Linked DNA regions of Homo sapiens: all the other regions are linked to region 1. The links are contacts of gene promoters, found by promoter capture Hi-C in human tissues and cell types (Jung and others, 2019). All regions are on one chromosome and are shown on one strand. The core of a region is centred on a gene start or on the middle of the fragment in contact, and the rest is flanking DNA. Distances in the headings are between cores, read along the strand shown.

Region 1 (4,987 bases), core at 1,425-3,924:
CATTCTGATCTCATGAAATCCTCCTTGCTTTGCCGCAAATGGAATCTCCTCAGATACCAAATTAATTCCACCACCAAATTGCTGATATCTGTTATCTCAGGCCCACCCTAATGTGGTCCTCAGTAAATTCCCGTGAAGTCATCTCAGTGATTAAACCAATCTCCTTACTTTCCCCCTAAGATGCAAACTCATTAGCACTCACCGCCAAAGCCATGGCTCAAGGTGTTGCCCCTACCTGGATTGCCTCCATTTGTCAATCAACCTTCTCTCTCCATAAGGTTTTCTCAAAGATTCTGCTTCTACAGATCTCTTCTTCGTGTCCCTTATTAGCACTTGATTATTATATTCTATCTTAAATCTTTTCTTTTTTGTTTTAGTTTCTTCACAGGAACCCTATCATATATTCTTCAGTTTAGGATAATGTAAGCTGCATAGTGTTTCAACAAATGCTTGTCGAATTGAAAGGGAAGCAGGATTTAAAAATTGACTTTAAGAAGCCTTCATGGCCAGGCGTGGTGGCTCATGGCTGTAATCCCAGCACTTTGGGAGGCCACGAGGTCAGGAGATCGAGACTGTCCTGGCAAACACGGTGAAACTCTTTCTCTACTAAAAATACAAAAAATTAGCCGGGCGTGGTGGTGGGCGCCTGTAGTCCCAGCTACTTGGGAGGCTGAGGCAGGAGAATGGCGTGAACCTGGGAGGCGGAGCTTGCAGTGAGCCTAGATCGTGCCTCTGCACTCCAGCCTGGGTGACAGAGTGAGATTTTGTCTCAAAGAAAAGCCTTCATGTCTAGTTGCTGATTGATGAATTCCATGCTGCATAAAAGATGCAAGTGAGAGAGAAAGAATAATGCAAATTTAGTTTAGTTGACAACTAAACTTTGGGAGGCCGAGGTGAGTGAATCACTTGAGGAGTTTGAGACCAGCCTGGCCAACACAGTGAAACCCTATATCTACCAAAAATATAAAAAATTAGCCAGGTGTAGGCCGAGTGCAGTGGCTCACACCTGTAATCTCAGCACTTTGGGAGGCCAAGGCATGCAGATCACGAGGTCAGGAGATCGAGACCATCCTGGCTAACATGGTGAAACCCCGTCTCTACTAAAAAATACAAAAAACTAGCCGGGTGTGGTGGCGGGCGCCTGTAGTCCCAGCTACTCGGGAGGCTGAGGCAGGAGAATGGAGCAAACCTGGGAGGCGGAGCTTGCAGTGAGCCGAGATCATGCCACTGCACTCCAGCCTGGGCCACAGGCGAGATTCCGTCTCAAAAAAAAAAAAAAAAAAAATTAGCCAGGTGTGGTGGCGCATGCCTGTAATCCCAGCTACTCGGGAGGCTGAGGTAGAAGAATCGTTTGAACCTGGGAGGCAGAGGTTACAGTCTGCTGAGATGGCACTACTACACTCCAGCCTGGACAACAGAGTGAGACTCTGCCTCAAAAAAAAAAAAAGAAAGAAAGAAAGGAAGGAAGGAAGGAAGGAAGGAAGGAAGGAAGGAAGGAAGGAAGGAAGGAGAAAGAAAGAAAGAAAGAAAAAACAATACATACACCTGTAGTAAAACTATGTAAAAATAGATAACACAAATATGTAAAATTCATGATTGTCATTTCCTCTGGAATGGGACAGTGGGGAAGGAAGGAACCAGGGGTGGGGGACATCAAAGAGGACTTCAACCTTCTGTAATGCTTTTTTATTATTAAAAAAATTGGAAGCAAATATTAAACAAAAATTAGCCAGGCGTGGTGGCGCGCACCTGTAATTCCAGCTACTCAGGGAGGCTGAGGCACAAGAATCTCTTGAACCTGGGAGGCAGAGGTTGCCATGAACCAAGATCACACCACTGCACTCCAGCCTGGGTAACAAAGTGAGACTCTGTCTCCAAAAAAAAGGGAAAGAAAAGAAAAGAAAAGAAAAAAGAGTAAGCAGTGCAAAGAGTGTGATCCTCATCCAAATGATATCATCCAAGTTACTTCATCCAAATGATATCATCCAAGTTACTACATGTCTAGGAAAAGTTAAGGGGCAGCTGAGGAAGTAGTTGTAACCTTTATTCCATTACAGGCTTAAAAATACTTAAGCAAAACCCCAGGAAGAGAGAAGAACCAGGAGTTATATTTGACACACCTAGATTTTTTTTTTTTTTTTTTTGAGACAGTTTCACTCTTGTTGCCCAGGCTGGAGTGCAATGACGTGATCTCGGCTCACCACAACCTCCGCCTCCCGGGTTCAAGTGATTCTCCTGCCTCAGCCTCCCAAGTAGCTGGGACTACACGCATGTGCCACCTCACATGGCTAATTTTGTATTTTTTTTTTTTTAGTAGAGACGGGGTTTCTCCATGTTGGTCAGGCTGGTCTCGAACTCCGACCTCTGGTGATCCACCTGCCTCGGCCTCCCAAAGTGCTGGGATTACAGGCATGAGCCACTGCACCCGGCCAACACATCTAGATTTTAAGCTTATTTAAGCAGGGCTATATCTTCTGTTTATTTTAGCATTCCTGTTGTCTATTATTTCCTACCCTCCTTCCCCCCTCACCCTTCTACCATGGCAGCATATAGAATGACCAGTTCTCTGCACATAGTAAGCATTCTTTACATGTTTGATCAATGATAATGTCACAATGGGTCTATTGTGACATCAACAGGACGGGAATATCATGGGAGCCACCAATTAGTAGCAGAGTATGCCACAACTTCTAGGATCAGGAAAGACCTCTCCTAGCTTCCTACTGGATATCTTTATTAGCATTTTTGTAGATTCTGTGAAAAAGAAGAAATAAAACGAAATCACCCACATTTTCAAAATGTTCTTCAAAATGAAAAATGAGATAGACAATGACCCTGAATCAGAAAAATGCATCAAGGATTCCACCATCATGAGAAGAGAGCCCCAAAATATCCTTAGTCCTTTGATGCTCCCTAACCTTGAGATCCCATTCTCAGTAAAGGATATCATCTCTAGGATTGAGCGCGCACAGCTCCATCGAGCCAGAGAGGTAGGTAGTGAATCTGAAGTTTACAGACTGCAATTTTCTTTTTAAACTTTCTGTGACCAAGTACATTTTTGTTTATTTTAGAAATCACTTTCATGATATTTGACTGTATTTAGGGTAGCTTTGACTTCAAATGACAATTTCACCTGACACCGACTGTGGATATAACAAGCTCCAATTTGACATTAATCTCTTTATATCAGGTTTAATAAAGCCATTTAAGAAATAAATCAAGCCGGGCATGGTGGCTCACGCCTGTAATCCCAGCACTTTGGGAGGCCGAGGCGGGCGGATCACTGAGGTCGGGAGTTCAAGACCAGCCTGACCAACATGGAGAAACCACCGTTTCTACTAAAAATACAAAAAGTTAGCTGGGCATGATTGCACTTGCCTGTAATCCCAGCTACTCAGGAGGCTGAGGTAGGAGAATTGCTTGAACCAGGGAGGTGGAGGTTGTGGTGAGCCAAGATTGCACCATTGCACTCCAGCCTGGGCAACAAAAGCGAAACTCTATCTCAAAAAAAAAAAAAGTTTTCATTTGTTCCCTATGGAGGTTTTATCAAACAGCTATTAGCCAGATAGAATTTAGATGGCTTTGAATTCTAGCTCCTTTTATTTTCCCTGTACACTTCAAGGAGAAATTAGGAGAAATTCAAGGAGAATAGAAAGAGTGTTTACATAATGTCAGCCGGGTGCGGTGGCTTATGCCTGTAATCCCAACACTTTGGGAAGCTGAGATGGGAGGATCCCTTGAGGCCAGGAGTTAGAGACCAGCCTGGTCAACATAGTGAGACCCCATCTATATTTTTAGAAAAATAAATAAATAAATAAATACATAAGAATCTAATAGACCCCCAAACAATTAAGGTTATACTGCATTTTATTCTCTCGCAGTACAACAAAATCAGGCCAGGCACAGCGATTCATGCCTGTAATCCCAATGCTTTGGGAGGCCAAGGCAGGAGGATCTCTTGAGCCCAGGAGTTCTAGACCAGCTTGGCCAACATAAGGAGACCTCCTGTCTACTAAAAATAAAAAAATTAGCCAGGCATGTTAGCTCAAACCTGTAGTCCCAGCTCCTTGGGAGGCCAGAGGATCCCCTGAACCCAGGAGACTGCAGTGAGCACCATGCTTGCACTACTGCACCCCACTCAGCATGGGTGACATAGCGAGACCCTGTCTCAAAAACAAACAAACAAACAAAAATCAGTCATGTTTGATGAAATTGATTAAGGGGGGGTTCTTTCCTATGTTTAAGGAAAGCTAAACTGGTCACAGTGGCTCATGCCTGTAATCCCAGCACTTTAGGAGGTCAAGGTGAGAGGCTCACTTGAGCCCAGGAGTTTGAGACCATCCCAGGCAACAAAGCAAGACCCTGTCTCTAGAAAAAATTTAAAAATTAGCCAGGAAGTGGTGGTATGCACTTGCAGTCCCAGCTACTCGGGAAGGTCCCTTGAGACCAGGAATTTGAGGTTACAGTGAGCTATAGATTGTGCCACTACATTCCAGTCTGGTGACAGAGGGACTCTATCTCTAAAAAAAAAAAAAAAAAAAAAAAAAAAAGAGTGTTAGCCAGGCACAGTGGCTCACTCCTGTAATCCCAGCACTTTGGAGGCCAAGACAGGAGGATCGCTTGAGTCCTGGAGTTCAAGACCAGTCTGGGCAACATAGTAAGACCTCTGTCTCTCTCTCTCTATAGGTAGATAGGTAGATAGATAGATAGATAAATAGATTTTTTTTTTTGAGGCAGACTATCATGCTATTGTTCAGGCTGAGTGCAGTGGCGCGATCTTGGCTCACTGCAACCTCCATCTCCTGGGTTCAAGTGATTCTCCTGCCTCAGCTTCCCAAGTAGCTGGGACTACAGGCACCGGCCACCAAGCCTGGCTAATTGTTTTTGTATTTTTAGTAGGGACAGGGTTTCACCATGTTAGCCAGTATGGTCTTGATCTCCTGACCTTGTGACCCACCCCCACTCCAAAGTGCTGAGATTACAGGCG
Region 2 (4,987 bases), core at 1,512-4,011, 330 kb after region 1:
TTCTGCTTAAAGACCTTCTCTAGCCAGGTATGGTGGCACGCACCTGTAGTTCCAGCTGCTTGGGAGGTTGAGGCAGAAGAATCGCTTGAACCCGGGAGGCGGAGGTTGCAGTGAGCCGAGATCGCACCACTGCACTCCAGCCTGGGCGACAGAACAAGGCTCCATCTCAAAAAAGTAAAGACCTTCTCTCACTCCCCACTGCCTCCTGGCAAAATTTAGTCCTCTCTTGTAGCCCCACAAAGCTGAAAGCAGCCAGGCGTGGTGGCTCACGCCTGTAATCCCAGCACTTTGGGAGGTCGAGGTGGACAGATCAAGAGGTCAGGAGATCGAGACCATCCTGGCTAACACAGTGAAACCCTGTCTCTACTAAAAATACAAAAAAAAAAAACCAAAAAAATTTAGCCAGGTGTGCTGGCAGGCGCCTGTGGTCCCAGCTACTCGGGAGGCTGAGGCAGGAGAATGGTGTGAACCCAGGAGGTGGAGCTTGCAGTGAGCCGAGACTGAGCCACTGCACTCCAGCCTGGGGGACAGAGCAAGACTCCGTCTCAAAAAAAAAAAAAAAAAAGCTGAAAGCAATGTACCCTCCACCTCAGGCCAGCATCCAGCCACCACCACCTGTCCCCAGACACACGAGGCTCATCCACAGTCCTGTGCCTTCCCTGGACTCCATCTGGAGAATTCCTACTCATTTTTCAAGATCCTACTCACATGTTACCTCCTCCAAGAATCCTCCCGACTCCACAGGGTGCTGTTAGTGCCCACCCAGGGAATAGACTAAAGGGTCCAGTTCTGCTCAAGGCCCTACAGCTATGAGTAATGACCGAGAGCAAAAGAGCAGGACCAAGAGACCATGTGCAGGAACAGGAAGCAAGGAAGGCCAGGAACACCCAGGGCAACCAGAGATAAGTCATTGCAGAGATGAGGAGAGACTCCCCCACCTTCAGCTGCTGTCCTCAGGCTTCTCCTGCATGAACCTGTGTGTCCTGTCCTGTGTGTATCTTTTTCCTGCCTGCCAGATCTTGAGCTCTCAGAGGGCAGGGGCCTCCTCCTTTGCATTCCCCAGGAAGTGCTTCAGAGAGGACTTCCAGACTTGGGTGGAGTGGGGCTGAGGCTTGGGCTGAGGAAGCTGCAGCTGCCCATGCGTTCCCACTAGAGGGCACTGTCCCCCTCCTTCAGATGTTTTGGAAGGGGAAGTAGATTGATTTCCAGAAGGAAGCAGCTAAGGCAGCGGGAGCTTCCAGCTTGGGAGCCCCAGCAAAGACAAGGGTGTGCACGCACAGACAGTGCCAAAGGACAGTAAGTTGGGTGCAACTGAATACCTCTTCCCCCACAGCAACCAAGACCACACTGCACACTTGCACATTACCACACAGACACGCAGCCCTGGTGTGGGGCGACACACACACCCCAACACACACACACACGCCCCAACACACACACACCCCAACACGCACACACCCCAACACACACACACACCCAACTGCATGTCCTCTCTCCTCCATCGCCTGTATGCTTGTTCAAACAAATGCTTATTCTTCTAACATTCTTTCCCATCTTCATCTTGTTCAAGTAATTGGGGGATGAGGAAAGTGTCAAAGGGCATACACAGAGGGCCCCTGGAGAGGTGCCCAAGCAGACACACACACAGAGCTGCACTCAGTCCTGAACCCTCTGTCCAAGCATACAGCGCCCCCCACCCAGACCTTCTCTTTAGCAGTGTGTGCTGAGTGGTTTCTGACTTTTTCTATATCCCTTTCTTCATTCCAGCCACCCCTCATGTCTGTGTAATGCTTCATGGTTTTCAATTGTTATCTCATGGGATCCTCACACAACCCAGTGAAATAAGCAGGTTTGAGTAACTTCATTCCCATCTGACAAGTGAGAAAACTGAGCCACACCAGCCTATTCAAGTCTTAGGGAGAGCAAGAAGTGGGCTGGAGGCTGGAATGAGGTCATCTGTCTCCAAATCCCTTGCTTCTTCATTCTTGCATTTACTCATTGACACAGTGGAGAACACATCATGGACCTGCCCTCATGGAGCTTACTGTCGAACAGGGAAGACAGACCTCAATTCAAAAATGAAAAAAACAAATATCTAATTGCAAACCATAAGTGCTATGAAAAAAAAAAATGACTCTATCAGAGTGAATGACAGAGGGACTTGCCCCAGACTGGGGAATTAAGGAAGCTTTCTCTGAGGAAATGATGTTTGAATTACAGTCTAAAGAATAAAGAGGAGGCTGGGCGCGGTGGCTTATGCCTGTAATCCCAGCACTTTGGGAGGCTGAAATGGGCGGATCACTTGAGGCCAGGAGTTCAAGACCAGCCTGGCCACCATGGTGAAACCCCTTATCTACTAAAAATACAAAAATTAGCCAGGCATGGTGACACATGACTGTAATCTCAGCTACTTGGGAGGCTGAGGCATGAGACTTGCTTGAACCAAGGATGTGGAAGTTGCAGTGAGCTAAGATTGCACCACTGCACTCCAGCCCAGGCAATAGAACGAGATTCTGTCTCAAAAAAATAAATTAAATAATAAATAAATAAATAAATAAATAAATAAATAAATAAAATAAAAAATAAATAAAGAGGAGTAATTAGGTAATGGTGTGTGTGTGTATATATTTGTGTGTGTGCACGTGCGCACTAGCGCTTACCGCTGTGGAGGAGGGAGGATATTCCAGAGAGAGAACTGAGTGTATGCAAAGGCCTGGAAGGAGAGAGATGAGAAGGGGCAAGTGTGGCTGGAGAGGTGGGTAAAGGCAGGGAGGACCCAGGTCACTCAGGGCCTTAAAGGCCACGGTGAGGATTCTGGCTGAGGGACAATGAAAGACTCCCCATGGAAGGCGTTCAAGTGATCAGAGCTTTGATTTGAAAAGACCACTCTGGCTGCAGAGTGAAGGATATAGAAGGGCTGCTGGAAGGCCTGTCGAGGAGCCATTGCCGTGGCCCAAAGAGACATGCAGTGGTGGGATGGGCCGGAACAGGGGGTAGAGTGGAGATGTTTATGAGGCAAAATTGGCAGATCCTGTCAAGGCAGGTGAGGGAGATGGAGTGTCAGGGATGATTTCTGGTTTGCATGACGGGGTGAACAGTGGGTGGCTCACTAGATCAGGCACACAGGTAAAGAACTAGTTTGGGAGGTAAGATGATGACTTTGGTTTTGCACATGCAGGTTTTGAGGAGTCTTAGGGACATCCAAGTAGAGACGTTAAGTGGGAAAATTGGCGACTGGAGCTGATGCTAAGAGGAGAGAGCTGGGCTGAGACATAAATTTGGCAGTTGTCAGTGTGTAGATGGTAATTGAAGTGATGAGTGAAGATGAGACTGCCCAAGAATAGAATATAAAGTTTAAAAAAAAGATAGAAAAAAAGGTCTGATTTGGCAGTATCCACTAAAGCTAAACAGAATCATACCCTATGACTTAACCATAGCTCCATAGCTAGTCATGTGCCCAGGAGAAATGAGTGCATATATCAACCAAAAAACATGAACAAAAATGTTCATAGTAGCTTTATAGATAAGAGCCAAAAACTAGTAACAACCCAAATGTCTAGCATCAGTAGAATGGATCAATTGTGGCATATTCATATAATGAGATACTATACAGCATCAAAAAAGAACTAACCACTTCCACACACAACAACATGGCTAAATCTCACAGACGTAATCACAAGCAAAACAAAACAAAACAAACAGACACAAAAGAGTATACACTGTATGGAGGATACATATACTCCAAGAAGTTCAAGAATGAGGGAAATTGATCTATACTGTTAGAACAGTGGTTAACTCTTATGGGGTAGCATTGACTAGGAAACAGCCTGAAGGAACTTTCTGGGGTACTGGAAATGTTTTATACCAATGCAATATGCAAAATACTACACTGTAAGACATACCAGTGTAAAAATTTTTCAAGCTGGTGCATTGTACTCTTATGATTTAAAAGAAGATTAAAGCTTGAGACTGAGCCTTGAGTAGTGATGACACTAAATGGCCAAGTAGAAGAAAATGAACTGGCAAAGAGACAGAGGAGTGGGTAGACATAGGAGGAAAACAAAGAGAGTATGATTGTCAGGAAAGCGAATAGTTCAAAAAAGAGGTGGTGGGGTCCGGGCGCAGTGGCTCACGCCTGTAATCCCAGCACTCCGGGAGGCCGAGACAGGCGGATCACCTGAGGTCGGGAGCTCAAGACCAGCCTGACCAACATGGAGAAAACCCGTCTCTACGAAAAATACAACAACAACAAAAAAATAGCCGCGCATGGTGGCACGCATCTGTAATCCAGCTACTCAGGAGGCTGAGGCAGGAGAATTGCTTGAACCCAGGAGGCGGAGGTTGCAGTGAGCTGAGATGGTGCCACTGCACTCCAGCCTGAGCAACAAGAGCAAAACTCCGTCTCAAAAAAAAAAAAAAAACAACAGCAGAAGAGTTGGTGGGCAACTATTTTAAATGCTATTGAGAGATCAAGAATAATAAAAAAAATATTTGCTGGATTCGGCAACATGAAGGTGACCACTGGCCTTAGCTAGAACCATTTAGGAGGAATGGTGATGATGGGGGAAGAAGGCAGCCTGGAGTGGATCAGAAAGTGAGTTAGAGATGAGGAAATAGAAACAGTGAAATAAACATATCACTTTTAGGAACTTTGTAAAGGGAAGCAGAGAGATACTATAGGAGCTGGCAGGTGCTGTGGAGTTGAGAGACACATGTTTTAGTTTTTATCTTAGCACAAAGACCGATACATAGCAAGTTCTCAATATATGTTAGCTGTCGTTACAGCTATGTATTTTAAGACAAGAGCATCTTCAGCATGTTTCATTGTCAATGGGGTTTCACTTGAGAAAGAGCGACCAACTGTAGAGCAGGGAGAGACAGAATTAGCAGGAGAAAGATCTTAAAAAGGCAGAGGGAATAAGATGAAAATTCTAGGTTGAGACTTTATCCTAGATAAGATGAATGTTCCCTTCTAGGGCTTGGTACC
Region 3 (4,987 bases), core at 1,515-4,014, 260 kb before region 1:
GTACATATGCGAGATAAAACCTATTCCACATCGCTGGGTTAGGCTGTAACAAGTTCTGGGAGATACTGATGTAGGATTAAGCTACAACTAGGCATTGGAAACAGCCAATTGGTAGCTCTTAAGATCTTGGAGAGAATGGAATCGATTCCTAATGTGGGAACAGCAAATTCTACTCCCTAAAATGAAAGGGGCTAATGGAAGCCTTATGATAAGAGTTCTTCCCAAATTTCCTCACTAGAGCAAAGTATTTGTCTTAGGCATGTGTGTAATTGTTGCATGACAGCATCAAGATATCCCATGTGGGGGCTGTGTGAGAAATCACTATGCAGGGTGCGCTCAATGTTTCCCCTTGTTGTGAGAGAATTCCTCTTCTATTTGACAACACAGATGTCCCTCACAGCACATGAAGCCTTCTCAGATACTACCCAGAGATCCCCAGAACAGGAGATAAATGGGTACAGAACCTTTTTATTACTCTGTTCTGCTGAATACAAGTCTTAGGAGAAAGGATTGTATCTTTGGAATCATGAAATTATTATGTATAAAACATATAATATGATCAAGAACATTAGGCCACAACGTCAAGGCTGCAGACAGAGGAGAACATTAGTGTCTAGAAATACAGAGGCCTATAGTTAATTTCAAAGGACTACAGTCTCATTCAGCAATGAACAGCTGCGATTTGTTTCTAGAGTTCGTGAATTCCCCTCAGGCAGTGACTTTTGTAAAAGCGGATAAAAAAGGTTTCCACTCCTTCTGAGCATTCTCAAGGTCTTTGCTGCATTCTCACATTTCACCCAAAGCCATAAGGGCAGCCTATTTACTCTGAAACTGCATGTCTTTGATACAGCTTTGGAGGGGATTATTTCCAAGAACTACATGTCATGCTGCTCCCTACCCTTTGCCATTTACTGCAACTGAACCCTCAGCCACACTGCAGTGTAATCTGCCAAAAAGGAATAGCTACTAAACTGAGAGCCCCCTTTGTCCATGAGGACCCAACTTGTGCTGTACTAATGTGGAAGGGAAACCATCCAAGATTTTCAATGAGTAGGTTTGAGGTATGCACCATTATAGACACAAACTGTCTTACTGTGATAGCCGGCTAGAGGTACCCTGTGATACATTTTGAGAAACACTTGAAGCCACAGAGCTATTTCTCTTTCAAACATGTTGACACCACAGATGTGAAGAAAAAAAGCACACACAGTAAATGAGCCCACAGCATACCCAAATGCTCTGAGAAGTTAGCCAAAACCGAGAAGAAAACTATTAATATTAATCTGGATCAGGGAATAGGATCAGTATGAACAGCTCAACAACTTGACAGCTGTGAATCAAAGTCAACCATAAGGCAACCTAGGAATCTCCCCAAAGACGTATTAAGTAGTTTAGGCCAAAAAAGTATGGGGAAATTTGTTCTCAAAGATTTCATTACCAGTAACATGAAAGTAGAAAGAGAGACACTATATTGAGGCTCTGAAATAGATTTACTATGTTTAGTCTCAAAGGCCTATATCAAGATCTTGTCTGGGATTCGATCTAAAAAAAATTTTTTTCGAGCTTCCACTAGAGAAGTTCAAAAAAAATTTTTTTTAAGGTTTTAAAAAAACTTTGGGAGAGATTCTGAACAGACAAGACAACTTAGATTGTTTCTAGTTATTCCTCAAATATGAAGTTATAACTCTTTAAATTTACCTTAGGGAGCATAAGGATTGAAGTCTGGTGAACAGGGATGGGATGAAGATACCTAGTTCTCACTGATCTCATGACCCCGTTATAAAAAGTAGATTCTTAAAAAATAAATAAATGTGTACAAAATACATTAACACACACACACATAAACACACTTATATACGTTTTGCAGGTCCATCACAACTTTGCATGATTGCTCTTCCATAATTGTTAATGACACAAAAACTTTTGTCCCAAGTCCAACAATTCTCATGCCTGCTGCAGAGACGAAGCATTTGGTTTAGGAGTACAAATGAATTAGATATATGACTACAAGTAGTATATTGGGTGACAATGAAAGTGGCTATTTAACACAGCAGGATTTTGGCCTAAGCTTTGGCCTGTATTTATGACTACATAAGTCTGGGGATTACAGCCAAAAAAAAAAAAGACTGGAAATTCAGAAGGAAAGTTTTTTTGTTTAGTTTTGAATAGTTTTACTCTTAAGACATCTTTTTGTGTGTTGTTTACGAGATGACAAGCAAAATCTGCCACCTCAGAGTGTTCTCTTACATTCCTCTAATGGCGGGGAGAAGATTCTGGTTCTTACCTCAGAAAAGAAAAAGCAGAACTTATTTCAGGAACATCAAGGTATTAACTGTCAGAGAGAAAAAGCTCTGATAAACCTACCAGGAGGTGTGCAGGCATCTGCAGGAGACTGAACAAATGTGGATCGCCTTTTGGTTGGCATGGGCAAAGCCATCTTCTGTTCTTTATGCTTTGCCAGTGCAGCCTGAACTGCTTCTGTGTGGATATCTGAAAAAGCAAACATTTGCATTTATTAGCTTCCGGCTCTTGAAAGTGTTTACCACTGTGAGCTGAACTATCACTGCCTCAATTGTTTAAAAAAAAAAAAAAAGGTAAAGGGGACGTTCAGATGATTTTTATTTATAATTTGATTAAGACCAATTAGAAATAAAAATCAAAAACAAAAATAAAAGAAGCCAGGGATAATTTTACGGAGGAGGAAAATGAAGTCCAGAATGATGTGTGACTCCTTAACACACCAGACAAAGAGTTGACAGAGATGTGGGGAGGTGGGTGGGGACAGAATACTGAGTCTAACATGCATCTGTGCCAAGCAGGAAATTCTGCCTCAAATGGAATGAGCGCTGTGCAGGTGCCTGGAGAACACTCATTATTTTTCAAGAAAAGAAGCTTAGGATTTTCTTAACTGAAAGAAAATTTCTTTCAAGTCTGAAAGAAAACTTGGTTGAGACCCCTCAGTTCTATGCCACAGGAAGAGAAGGATTTATTTTGATCTAGAAAAACATAAGGGCAGATGTTAATTGTTTGCCACTTTGGGCACAAAAAATTTCAGCTCTCTACTTGAATGTCTAATAGGAATCTCAAAATTAACACATCCAAACAAAACTCTTCATTTTCTACCCCCACTCCAAAGGTCACTCTATAGTTCCACAAAATTGAATCATACTGTACACAGTATTTTGTATCCCGCTAAAAAAAAAAAAAACTCTTACAAAATCTTACTGAGGTAGATAACAGCTGAGGTAGCTTCCTAAGTCACAAAAAAAATAGTTTCCTTTTGTCTAGGAATGGGCCTAATCCACAAACAAACTATCCTTCCATACCGCTCTGTAAAGTAAATATACCCCTTATAAGAGCTAGACCAATGAGATCCTCTTTTTTAAATTTAAACTCTGAATCAAGAAACTGCAGGTCCTAAATGGAATCACTTTAACGACAATGTGACAATGCCCTAGAAAGAAGGAAGGTTTTAAACTTCAAGGTTGAGATTCCCAGAGTTATCTCTCCTTTCTAGGGGTTTTTCAAATGTTGATTTGTTTCTATGACCTACCTCAGCTATTTAAGGTAGCCTATGTAAGTTGACCTGTTTTTTTTGAGATGGAGTGTCGCTCTGTCGCCCAGGCTGGAGTGCAGTGGCGCAATCTCAGCTCACTGCAACCTCTGCCTCCCAGGTTCAAGCCATTTTCCTGTCTCAGCCTCCCAAGTAGCTGGGACTACAGGTACACGCCACCACGCCCAGCTAATTTTTGCATTTTTAGTAGAGGTGGGGTTTCACCATCTTGGTCAGGCTGGCCTTGAACTCCTGACCTTGTCATCTGCCCGCCTCGGCCTACTAAAGTGCTGGGATTACAGGCGTGAGCCACCACGCCCGGCCAGCTTCTGTTTCTTGCAACCAAAAAACCTCCACTAATACAAGGAGAAACACCTCACTGTGTACAGACCAACAACATAACTTTTAAGGGCTGCATAGTATTTCACTGCATGAATGTGCCATGATTTACTTACACAATTCCTTATTATCAGATACTAGGTTATTTCCAAATTTTTGAAATTATTCATAGAAAGAATAATTCAGTATTTTCACCTTAGCACATGTCTAATTATTTTCTTAGAATTAATTACAAAAACTGCTGAGATCAAAGTATATGTACTTATTTCTTCAGAAATGTTTCAAACATATTTCCTAAAAATAAGGAATTTTCTCTTATATAACCCCAGGACATTATTCAAAATCCAGAAAAATTGGCCGGGTGCAATGGCTCACACCTGTAATCCCAGCACTTTGGGAGGCCTAAGTGGGTGGATAACTTGAAGTCAGGAGTTCAAGACCAGCCTGGCCAACATGGTAAAACCCTGTCTCTACTAAAAATACAGAAATTAGCCAGGCATGGTAGCACGCACCTGTAATTCCAGCTACTCAGGAGGCTGAGGCAGAAGAATCACTTGAACCCAGCAGGCGGAGGTTGCAGTGAGCCGAGATCACACCATTGTACTCCAGCCTGGGCGACAGAGCAAGACTCTGTCTCAAAAAAACAAAACAACAAACCCCAGAAATTCTTGTTTTTCTTTTTTTTCTTTCTTTTTTTTTTTTTTTGAGATGAGGTCTTGCTATGTATGCTGCCTAGGGTTGGTCTTGAACTGGGCTCCAGCGATCCACCCGCCTCAGTCTCCCGAAGTGCTGGGATTACCAGCCAAAATACAGAAATTCAACATTGATACAAACTATTATCTAACCCACAATCCATATTCCAACATAGTCTATTGTCCCAATAATGTCCTCTATAGGTTTTCCCTCCCACCTTTTTTCCTGATCTGGGATCTACTGGAGGAAATCCTACTTAGTTGTCCTGTCTCTTGATTCCCCTATAATCCAGAACTGTTTCTCAGCCTTACTTTGCCTTTTATTATCTTGATATTTTTGTACAGACTAGTTATTTTGTAAAATGTTCTTTAATTTTGGCTTGCTTGATATTTCCTTATAATT

What was found. Contacts are between HindIII fragments. The study calls those that stand out against the background at their distance.
Region 2: a contact is called between a fragment that was not itself captured here and the fragment with the promoter of FAM186A in region 1, in 1 of the 25 tissues and cell types used here (IMR-90 fibroblasts).
Region 3: a fragment that was not itself captured here is called in contact with the fragment with the promoter of FAM186A in region 1 in 1 of the 25 tissues and cell types used here (spleen).

What each region holds. Positions count from the first base shown.
Region 1 is chr12:50,394,296-50,399,282 of GRCh38, reverse strand. FAM186A (family with sequence similarity 186 member A) reads left to right here and starts at 2,674. Exons shown (of 8, transcript NM_001145475.3): 1 at 2,674-2,990. The coding sequence starts at 2,799. The HindIII fragment of the contact is 8,551 bases long and covers 1-4,987 here.
Region 2 is chr12:50,066,845-50,071,831 of GRCh38, reverse strand. All of the region lies in intron 3 of ASIC1 (acid sensing ion channel subunit 1), which reads right to left. Among named protein-coding and RNA genes, the nearest start is that of ASIC1, 12 kb to the right of the region's middle. The HindIII fragment of the contact is 4,189 bases long and covers 667-4,855 here.
Region 3 is chr12:50,657,697-50,662,683 of GRCh38, reverse strand. DIP2B (disco interacting protein 2 homolog B) reads right to left here. Exons shown (of 38, transcript NM_173602.3): 4 at 2,365-2,490. Among named protein-coding and RNA genes, the nearest start is that of ATF1, 100 kb to the left of the region's middle. RefSeq lists an enhancer at 1,221-1,280. The HindIII fragment of the contact is 3,484 bases long and covers 1,023-4,506 here.